Regions from separate parts of the Homo sapiens genome. Here region 1 is linked to region 2. The links are contacts of gene promoters, found by promoter capture Hi-C in human tissues and cell types (Jung and others, 2019). All regions are on one chromosome and are shown on one strand. The core of a region is centred on a gene start or on the middle of the fragment in contact, and the rest is flanking DNA. Distances in the headings are between cores, read along the strand shown.

Region 1 (5,465 bases), core at 1,106-3,605, 110 kb before region 2:
CTTATGTTGTTGAGTTTGTTGTCTTTCTTATGTGATAGTTGTATTCTTTATATGGCTTTTTGATTATGTTGTCTTGAAAACTCTTCCTCTTGGATTATTAGTTACTAGCCACGGCTATGTGTTGGAAAAGGGCTAAATCCCAGCCTGCAGTTTATGTACCTCCAAATGAATTAAAACTTTGGAAACTGCCCAGGGGATGGAACCTCAGGGCCTGAAGAACTGATGGTGATTATCCCAATTTTCCCACCACGGCCAAATCATGTTGAGAGGTGAAGCCACCTGGGCTGCTGGGTCAGGTGGGAACTTGGAGAACTTTTCTGTCTAGCTAAAGGATTGTAAACGCACCAATCAGTGCTCTGTGTCTAGCTAAAGGTTTGTAAATGCACTAATCAGCACTCTGTAAAAACGCACCAATCAGCACTCTGTGTCTAGCTAAAGGTTTGTAAACGCACCAATCAGCACTCTGTAAAAACGCACCAATCAGCACTCTGTAAAATGGACCAATCAGCACTCTGTAAAATGGACCAATCAGCAGGACATGGGCGGCACCAAATAAGGGAATAAAAGCTGGCCACGGGAGCCAGCAGCAGCAAACCGCTCAGGTACCCTTCCATACTGTGGAAGCTTTGTTCTTTTGGTCTTTGCAATAAATCTTGCTGCTGCTCCCTCTTTGGGTCTGCGCTTTGGAACTGTGACACTAACTGTGAAGGTCTGCAGCTTTACTTCTGAAGCCAGCAAGACGACGAACCCACCAGGAGGAATGAACACCTCTGGATGCGCTACCTTTAAGAGCTGCAACACGGTGAAGGTCTGCAGCTTCATTCTTGAGGTTAGCGAGACCACAAACCCAGCAGAAGGAAGAAACTCCGGACACATCTGAGCATCTGAAGGAACAAACTTCGGACACACCATCTTTAAGAACTGTAACACTCATTGCGAGGGTCCGCAGCTTCATTCTTGAAGTCAGTGAGACCAAGAACCCACTGGAAGGAACCGATTCCGGACACAATGTCTCTAGTCCATGTTTCATATTTAAACTCTTTACAAGCAGTCTGCATAGATTTCATTCACGTTCCCTAATGGGAGTAGTACAGCAGTGAATGCCCAGGATACTGGTTGGCACACGCCTGCCTTTCATTCCTCCTTCTTCCTGCAGGGCTTTGGTACTGCACTTGTAGTACCCTCCTGACACCTGTAGCTTAGGTTGCTGGTACCAATCTCTGTGGTGATTGGGCAGGCCGTGATGGTCCACGTGGCAGAACAGAAACAGAAACGCTGTTCCCCTTTGACCTTCTAGTAGCTACCTATGGCTGCCTTCCCCCCAGGCTGAAGCAATTCTCTCTTTTCCCTCCCCCAACATATAACAATCCTGAGTCTTCAGACTCCCCTGGGGCCTTATCACAGTGTTTTATTTTATTTTATGGTTTGTCATTAGTTTCTCAAATATGTTTCCCTCTGGCTTCTATAGTTTCTCTAGGGTTGATTTTCAGAAGCAGCCAGTGGCCAATGTAGTTTTTCATCTTGACAGGATGAGAGAATGGTTTATAGAATGAGCAGGTGTATCATAGAAAGGAAAGAAACAGACAGGAGATGGATGAGTCTTAGGGAGGGAAAGGCTATGAAGGTACAGCAAGAGATGCTGTTCTCTACATTTACTTTTTATTTTAGTGTATGTGTGTGTGTGCATGCACACGTGTACATATACGTTAAAAGTCAAACAATACTGTCAGGCTTATAATAAAAATTAACAATCCTAACCCTTCTCTACTCCACAATCCTGCTCCCTTAAGGCAAAAATTTTCAACTTTTATTTTTGCTTTTTTTTTTCTGGTATTTGCTTCCACATTCTAAATAAATGCCTATATCATTATTTCTTGATTTTAAAATGTTAGCTATTTTCTTTGGCTTCCTTGCATGGAGAATGAGAAGCTAGCTCAGGTGATCACTGTGTTGGCCTTCCTACAGATTCTCTTCCCTTCCTTACTTCATTTCTTCAATTCCAATATAGTTGAACAATATATGTTCTTCATTCTTCCAGTATAGTTCCAATATAGTTGTTTTCATTATCAGCACTCCATGTTTATACCATTGTGTCCATGTGAATACAGTTCACACCTTAGACATGTAGCACACTAAGATTATATTCCTTTTCTTATATAACATTTTATTTTCTTAGGATTAATACTTGTTTTCCCCCAGCTACCCAAGTTGTTCAGTGAATCACGTGCCTATCTTAATTCTCTGACAGTTGTAGGATACTTTCAATAGAGTTGAACACATCAGGCAATCTCTCCGATTCCTCCTCAACCTCCGTGCGGGCTCTAACTTCCTGCTCTATGCTGGATTCTGTTCACACCTTCCCTTCATTAGGATCTTGGGAATTTCCTTTGCCTGCCTTCTTATGTTAGATTTCCAGTTTCCTAATTTTGTATCTACCTCTTTCTTGATTCATTCTCATGTTTGGTGAAGAAACTAGTATCTTCTAATAGCGTCCTAAGAGAGTCTGTAAGAGGTAAAATGTATGTCTATACATAGTGGTCAGTTGTTATTCAGGCTGGCTCCAGTTTCCGAACATTGTTTTAGCAGTTTCCCACGTTATAAATTCTGCATTCCTAACGAAGATTTTTCAGGTCATTTTCCAGTTGTGAGATTGCAGACATGTGGTTTTGATTCCACCAGTCAACTGCATCTGTGCCAGATTCAAAATCTGGGTCCAGAACTGAATTATTTGGGAAAAAGCCAGGGTCTGAGGTTGTTACTTTGCTGGTGCAGCTCTGGGCCCGGCAGTACAGCAGGACTCTGGAGTCTAAATGTGCAACCATAGCACCTGATTTGTCAACTTCCTGGTGATGGCAGAGGCCATAGGTTGGAACTGGCACTGGTGGCAGTAGCCTCCTGGTTTCATGGCTTGTGTGAGCAGCGTTGTGCTGTGGAGCTGGGTGTCACAACTGGAAGCACAATCCGTTTCCTTCCCTCAGTCTTGAGCTCTCACTACGTCATAACTAGTCCTTTTGGCTTAAACTGGCTACAGTAATTTCTGCCTTGCTAAACTAACTTGGCCAATATATCCCTTGTATGCCTAAAGATGTCCTTGTCCTTCTGTAAGACGTAAGTTTGGTCAGGTATAGAATTCTAATTTCGAAACCATTTTCTTCAAAAATTAGAAAGCATTTCTCCAGTGTCTCTGGTTTCTAGCGTTGTTGCTGAGAAGTCCAAAGCCATTCCGTTTTGAGACCATGTATATGATTTGCTTCTCTCTAAAGCTTTTCTGTTTTATCTCAAAGTAGTATTTATTCTTAATTTTTCTGTTTTTATATAATCATATTTTATTTACTTATCATTATTAGTTTTTACAGACAGGGCTTCACTCTGTTGCCCAGGCTGGAGTGCAGTAGCACAATCATACATAGCTCACTGCAGCCTCAGATTCCTGTATGCAAGAGATCCTCCCACTTCAGCCTCCTGAGTAGCTGGGACTCTGTGCCCAGCTAATTTTTAAAATTGTTGAAAGAGATGGAGTCTCGCTTTGTTCTCCAGGCTGGTCTTGAACTCCTAGCTTCAAGTGATCCTCCTGCCTTGGCCTCCCAAAGTGCTGGGATGACAAGTGTAAACCACTGTGCCTGGCAAAAGGTCATATTTTAAAGAGACAAAGAGTTCTGTTGTCTTATGAAAAGCAGCCTTTGTTTCCTCACTTCACCCCTCCCCATTTCCTTATTATCAGAAATGACCACTTTCACCACAATGTATATTAACAACATAATTAAATATATTTTTGTGCATATGAATTGATGCCAGTAAATCTTTCAATGTTATCATATTTGACTGTTATACACATTTTCAAGAAAACATTATATATGAAAGCAGATGACTGCCTTGTATCTAAACAGACTTTGGGGTGTAGGAGTTATAGATCCTCAAGTAGCAGTTGTTAGTGGGTTTTCCTCCTCTGAAGAGTATTTCACTCATTAGGTGGTAGGATGTGACCCTAGGCTTGGGCCTAAAAATAGAAAGAAGGAGGTGTGGTGGCGCATGCCTGTAATCCCTGCTACTTGCGAGGGTGAGGTGGGAGAATCGCTTGAACCCGGGAGGCAGAGGTCACAGTGAGCCGAGATCGTGCCACTGCACTCCAGCCTGGGCAACAGAGGGAGACTCTGTCAAAAAAAGAAAAAAAGAAAAAGAAAAAGAAAAAAGAGAAAGAAGGGGTGGGCAGGTAATTTTGGGACCATGAGGTTTCTGACACCAACATTCCAGGATTTCAGGGTGGGCCTCCTGATCTGGGGAAAAGGCTGTGGAGTGAATCTAAAGAGCTACAACTAGAAGCCCAGTAAGGTTGATGTGGAACTTCTTGGCTGAGCCCACCATTAAGGGATTGGAATTCTAAGGCATGGAACCTGGAAAAACCACTGTAGCCCGGGCAGGGTGTGAATGGGTGGATGCCTCGCCTCACCTGATCACTTAGGACCATATCTAAGCACCAGGAGAAACAGCAGGATCGGTGCAGAATAAGTCACTTCCAAGCTGCTTAGGCTTCAGATGCCTTTAGTGTGACTGTGCATCGTAAATCAATCAGCTTTTGTAATGCTTGCTAAAATCTCCAACGTTAAGGGAGAACCTTTGGCTCCAAAGTAGCAAAATAGTGAGATAGGAATTAGCAGGACTCCCTTCTCAGGCTACTTAGCATCCCGGAAGTATTAGATGTATGAAAGGTGTAAGGGGTCTAACAGATACACTGATTTCCTGTTAATATGGACACTGGGGGCTGGAACACTGCATTAGGGACCCTCCTGGAATGAGGTTGGCTGTTATTCAAGATACAGCCTGTGAAATAAGATGTACTGGTTACACATATTTTACTGATATTCTCTCTCAATTTCTCTTGACACTAGCAACTCTGGTTACCTGTAATTTAATATTTTTTTCGAGCAGCTGAAGATGACAGGATGGGGGAGAGAAAGGAGTGCAAACAGGGAAGCCTAGATCTGACATGATTTTTCTGTGTCCAAAGCACCCCCCCTCAAGTTGCCCCTGTTGAACCCAAGCTAGTTTCTACAACTCACAAAGATACACTTTAATCCAATTTCTATATTTCTTCCATGCAAAATTATACTTTTGATCAAAGATAGGAAAGAAGAGCCTAATAGCTTAAAGCCGAACATAAAGAACTCTGACCTTAGCTTCTCTGAATAGCAACCAATAAATATAATGACAACAACAACAAACAAAAACAAGAAAACCCAAATCATAAAACAAAAAAAACCCCCCATACAAACAGAAACACTTGATGCATCATTAGATCCACACACTAGGGTGAGCAACACAGTTTCAAAAAACAATGATAAGTCTGATAGGAAAGGTGGAGCAGGACGGGCTGCTGGAGCTTTTCTGGAAATGAAAAGAAGCAAATGGCCCAAGCCAGTGTCCCCATATCTGTGCCTCTTGCTAAATGGCCTGTCTGCTCCATGACA
Region 2 (5,197 bases), core at 628-3,127:
GCACAACATTAATGAGTTTCAAAAACATTGTGTGGAGTGAAGGAAGTCAGACACAAAGGAATATGTAAGTGATTCCATTCATATGAAATGTTAGAAAAGACAAATCTAATCTGTAGTTACAGAAAACAGCTAAGCGGGCCAAATATGAGGTGGGATAGAAGTTGACTTTAAAGGGGTGCAAGACAACCCTCTGAGGTGATGGAATTGTTCATTATCTTGATTGAAGCAGTGGTTACATGGGTGTGTACATTATTCAAAACTCATGAAGCTGTATAATTAATATGAGTGTAATATATGGAATGTAACTTATCCCCCAATAAAGTTGATTAAAAAATTAAAAGGAAAGTGGGGCAACCAAGTTTCATAAAGCAAAATATCTTTGGGTAATAAGTGGCATGAACTAACAGCCAATTTCCTTAGAAAACAGCCATATGGATTAATCACCTCTAGAATTATTTGTGCCTGTGCTGCCCAGATCAAAGTTCCAACTCCTGGCAGAGAGGGCCTGAGGGGCTTAGCTGAGGTCAGTTGCTCTCTTCTGGACAGGGAAAAGCTGGACCATCCTGACTGACCTTCCACCCAGACTGCTGTCCTTGTGGCAGGGATGGTATCTCAAAGAAAAATGGAGGTACTGTTACCAGAGAAGGGGCAATGATGACTGCTAAACAAACAAATAAACAAACACCAAAACAGTCTTCCCCTGTGTATTTCCAGGGAGAGTAAAGAGGATGGTGAGGGGCTTCAAACATATCTATGTTCATTCATTCCATTCATTTATTCACTCAAACATAATATGGAGTCTGTACTATTTTCCAGGAGCGTTATTGAGTAGGGACTCGAACGCTCTTGAAGTCTCTCTAAAAAGAAAGAGTTCTTATTAATGGGAGGAAGAGAAGCCTGGTAGGAGATGGTTACCTGGAGTGGTTATGGGGCTTAAACCTGTTTTTGTTTTTTTGTGGGGAGAGGGGGATAGAATTCAACGACACAAGAAAGAACTTTGCAGCAGTCAAATTTGTATCTTTTGGGGTCCTGTAAAAGCTGGAAAACTCTTTAGTCTGGAAGAGGAAGATGGACAGTCAGAGAAGCAGATTCCAGAATTCATGTCCTGTCTAACCCACAAATGGAAAAGCCCGTTCATGGTTTTAACATTCCATCACTGGGCCTCCCGGGGCCTCCTCGGCGAGTCGGCAGAGGGAGCCATTCCCCAATAAATTGCCGCGCGAGGCCTCCGAGGACCTGGGGGGATTTTCCTGCGCGTCCGGGGAGTTCTCTCTCCGCCCCTCCATGGTAAAGCAGACTATCCCACCCTCCACCCTCTGCCTTCACCTCCCCGCCCCACCTTTCCATGTACTTTGCTGCCACATCACATTCTCTGGCACGGCTTAATCACCATCCTTTCTGGGTCCCACCTTTGCGCTTTCTCCCCTGACACCACTGAGGACCCGCCGTCCACTCCAGTTGGCCGCTCGGGCGCCGGCCACCGTCCCACAAATCCTTACAGAGGGTCTAGAACACCTCCCAGGGACTCTGCCGAGGGACTTGCACCCAACGTGGGTTGGGAATCAGGCGGGCACCCACTCTGACACCCCTTCGGTCACCCCCTGCGGTGACCCCAACATTTGCTAACTTCGCGACCAGGCCTTTGGCGGGGTCACCCACCAGGCGGTGGAAGCCGCTCAGGCAGGGGCGACTCACGATCGAGGTGCAGCAGTCAGGCCGGGAAGATCCTGCATGTTGCGCTAGGGACTGCGCGCGGCGCCAAGCGACAACCCCCCAGCGGCCACTGCCCCGGCAGCAGCAGCTGCAGCAGCGGCAACTGCTCGAATCCCGGCCCCGGCTCGGGTTACCCGCCCCCACCCCCTCCAGCATCTCGGGCCAGACAGAGAAAACCTTGTTCAAGTTTGCAGCAAGTACTTTCCCGGTGCGCAAAACTGGGCGACTGGGAACGCGTTGAGACGTTCCTCTTTCCCGCTTCTCCACCTTTACGCCTGAAAGAAGACTCCCAAAGATTGCTTTCTTCTGGGACGCTGCTTGGACGCTAACCGCGTTGATTGGAACAGATTTTGTGTCTTGGCTGGCTTTGGGTGAAGACCGGGGAGAAAAGGTTGCGCTGCGATTCTCAAGATCTCTGGACCTGGGTAAGAGTTGGGCAAACTCAACTCCGGCGGCTCCTGGACCTTGGCCGGACGCCGGAAGGCTTCTCATGGGCGGGGGTCACATTTTCCTTAGCCAGGGTACCGGGGTGCGGCGTGAGGTGGGGCGAGATGGGCTCAGTCTGCGTTGTTCATGCGCTTCTTAAGGGTTTATTGTTGTTTGCATTTGGTTTTGTTACATGGGATTGTGTAGGAAAATCCTGGAGTATTTTTGATGGAGAGACATCCTCATTACGCATTTTATTTTGCATAATTCCTGCCCTTGTATTGCCTTACCTTGTGTTTGTTTCATTTTGCCGGGCGATATAGCTGGATGTAGGGAGATTTGTGGGGAATCGGACTGAGCTTGAAAGGCAGTTTCAGCTGGGCCCTTTCTTCTAGGTCAGTTGAACTTCCTTTCTGGGATCTTCACTGTTTTCTAAACTTCTCTTTCTCCCGTCCTTGGTATTCAGATTGTGCAGATAACGCTCTAGGCTGGCGGGATGCTCCCCTTTCCTGAGTTCTCAGCGATCAGTAGGGGTGTGAGGTCGCAGTCTTAGACCAAAGGGGCCTTGTCAGTATGCTTGGCTCCTTAAGGAGTGCTGGGAGGGACGGTTTTTCAAGTGATAGTTACTTAAGAAAGATAAATCCGGTGTTGATCTTTTTCTTTTAAATTCCTTGTTAGAGGACTTTTACGCCTGGTTTAAGGAAGTGTTTTGGCCTTAATTTTCTTTCTGGAAGTATTTTTCTTAGTGACACCACTGAGCAAATGAATGATGGCAATATCTTTGCTGCTTCTTTAGAAAATATCCTCACGCAAGGACCCACATTATTTAGGAGAAAGTCAAAGTTGGAGATCTTATTAGCCAAAATTAGCCATTATTATTGTTCTTAGGCTGTGATAACCATGCTGTGCCAAGGCAGAAGAGAATGACATTTCTTCTTGTTCTTCTTGCCTTACTCCTTTATATCCTGGGTCTCACTTTGTGTATAGGGTTCCCAAATAAAAATGCTTCATTCCTTATGGACAGAAATACTGGGGCCAATTTATATTATCCAGAAATGTCATCTTCCTGACACGAGTGCTCCAAGAGGTCAGCTTGCAGGGAACTTTTAATTTTACCACTGAGAGTTCAAAGAGTTCAGTTGGTAAACTCTGGGCACCCGCCAGCCTGGGTTCAGCTCACAACTCTGCCACTTTTCAGTTCTGTGATTTTGGGGTAAGTTACTTAATCTGTTTATCCACATATGTAAAATCAAAATGATAATAATAGCACTTACATCAGACAATTGTTAAAGGGATTAAGTAAGTTAATGCATGTGAAGGACTAACAAGCCTGACACATAGTAGGCACAAATTAGCTTTATTATTATTGTATAGCTAGCATTAACTATTGTTGTATCCCTCTAGTATAGCTTCTATTAGCTGTCAGTAAGTGTTAGCTATTATTCCTATTTGGATGGACTTTGAAGACTGTGCTCATCTGTAAGCTTCACTACCACCTATTGTCAAACTTAGCTCAGACATGATCTTTGTATTGCTTTTTTGTTGTGGCACTTTCAGTTGGAAAAATAAAGGTGTATATGGCAGAGCTGGAATTTATAGGGTGGTGGGTCATGGATGGGCACCAAAGACTACTTGGAACAGGTGAGGAGGTGGGAAATCTACACTCAGTTCACAGCCTGTATACCTCCTTGGAAATCCTTTACATTAATATACTTTCTTTAACCTATTTTTTAGAGGTCACTCATTTGTTCAGTAAGTATTTATTAACCATCTATTACATGTCAAGCACTGTTTTAGGTTTTATATTTTAAAAATGGCTATGCATGAGTATTGGCTTTATGTGCCTCCTCCCATTTCAAGTGTGTGACCTAGCACTCTATAAATTAAATCCCAAGTATTTTTAGCTACACAATTTCCATACCTGTTAAAATGCTCATAAGAGCACATAAAAAGCACGTATCATTGAGAAATTGAACAAAATATTCCCTATGACCTCAAGCAGATTGCTTTTCTCCATTTAGGCATCAGTTTTATTATGTATAAACTTGTGTTGAGAGGTGGGGAAAGAGTAGAATAACCTCCAGTGTTCCTTCTGGCTCCAAAATCCTTAAATTAGCTGCCTTACTTCATTGGTGGCTGTTTTTGAACCCCCACTTTTCTCTTTTAACATTTGTTTTAGGTACATAAATTACGTTACTTCCATCTTTGCATATTCATCAAAGTGAGTAACAACATCGATAATTAATGAAAAGGGAAAAGCGTTTATCTCTGTCTGTCTTTCACTATTCTCAGACTTTGGTTTATACCAGAAGCATGAAGTGGGGAGATTTGTTAAAATATTAGAGTGAACTATGAGAAATTGCTGATATTTGACCATTTTTGACCTAAATAAATGGCAATTTTGTATGGTTCAAACTATACAAACCCTAATCCCTTCTGCCTTGATTTAGAAGTAGTAAGTCTTCTGTGAGTTGTGAGAAGTCTGCATTTTTACAAGTTCCCCAGGTGATTCTAATGCAAAACTCAAGTCACATGCTCATTTAGCAGCAGTGAATTTACCTTCTTTGTGATTGTCTGCTTGGTTTAATAGTGTATTTCTAAAATGCAAATCTGATCATGTTATTCCCTTGTTTAAAAATCTTTGGCAGCTCTCTGGATGGTGAATGTCAGTGTTACCTGGGTGCATGTTGAAAATATAGATTCCAGGGCTTCACCCCAGAAGTAAGGGCCAGTAATCTGCATTTTGAGATCTCCAGGTGAACCTGGTAAAGCTGACGTCAGATCACATTTGGAGAAACACTGGCTTACAGCATAAAGTCTCACCTCCTTACCGCTATACACAAGACCACCTTTGCAGCACTTCTCAGGGTTATTTTCTGCTTCTCTGGTCCCCAGCTCTCCAGCTCCCACTGATCTTGATCTTGTTACTATCTCAAGAATACGCTGTGCACTTTCACTCTTCCATGACCCAGCTGTATATGCTGTTCCTTCCTCTGAAAATGTCTTTGACCCTCTTTCCTGTCTAACCAACCACTTACCACCCATTCATCTTTTAAGA

What was found. The method cuts DNA at HindIII sites, captures the fragments that hold promoters and counts their contacts. A contact is called where the count stands out against the background at its distance.
Region 1: a fragment that was not itself captured here is called in contact with the fragment with the promoter of MEGF10 in region 2 in 3 of the 25 tissues and cell types used here (H1 embryonic stem cells, aorta and pancreas).

What each region holds. Positions count from the first base shown.
Region 1 is chr5:127,182,342-127,187,806 of GRCh38, forward strand. No RefSeq gene overlaps it. Among named protein-coding and RNA genes, the nearest start is that of MEGF10, 110 kb to the right of the region's middle. The HindIII fragment of the contact is 4,718 bases long and covers 1-4,714 here.
Region 2 is chr5:127,288,919-127,294,115 of GRCh38, forward strand. It overlaps MEGF10 (multiple EGF like domains 10), which reads left to right and starts at 1,878. Exons shown (of 25, transcript NM_001256545.2): 1 at 1,878-2,138. LOC105379199 reads right to left here and starts at 1,818. Exons shown (of 4, transcript XR_007058921.1): 1 at 1,660-1,818. The HindIII fragment of the contact is 12,500 bases long and covers 1-5,197 here.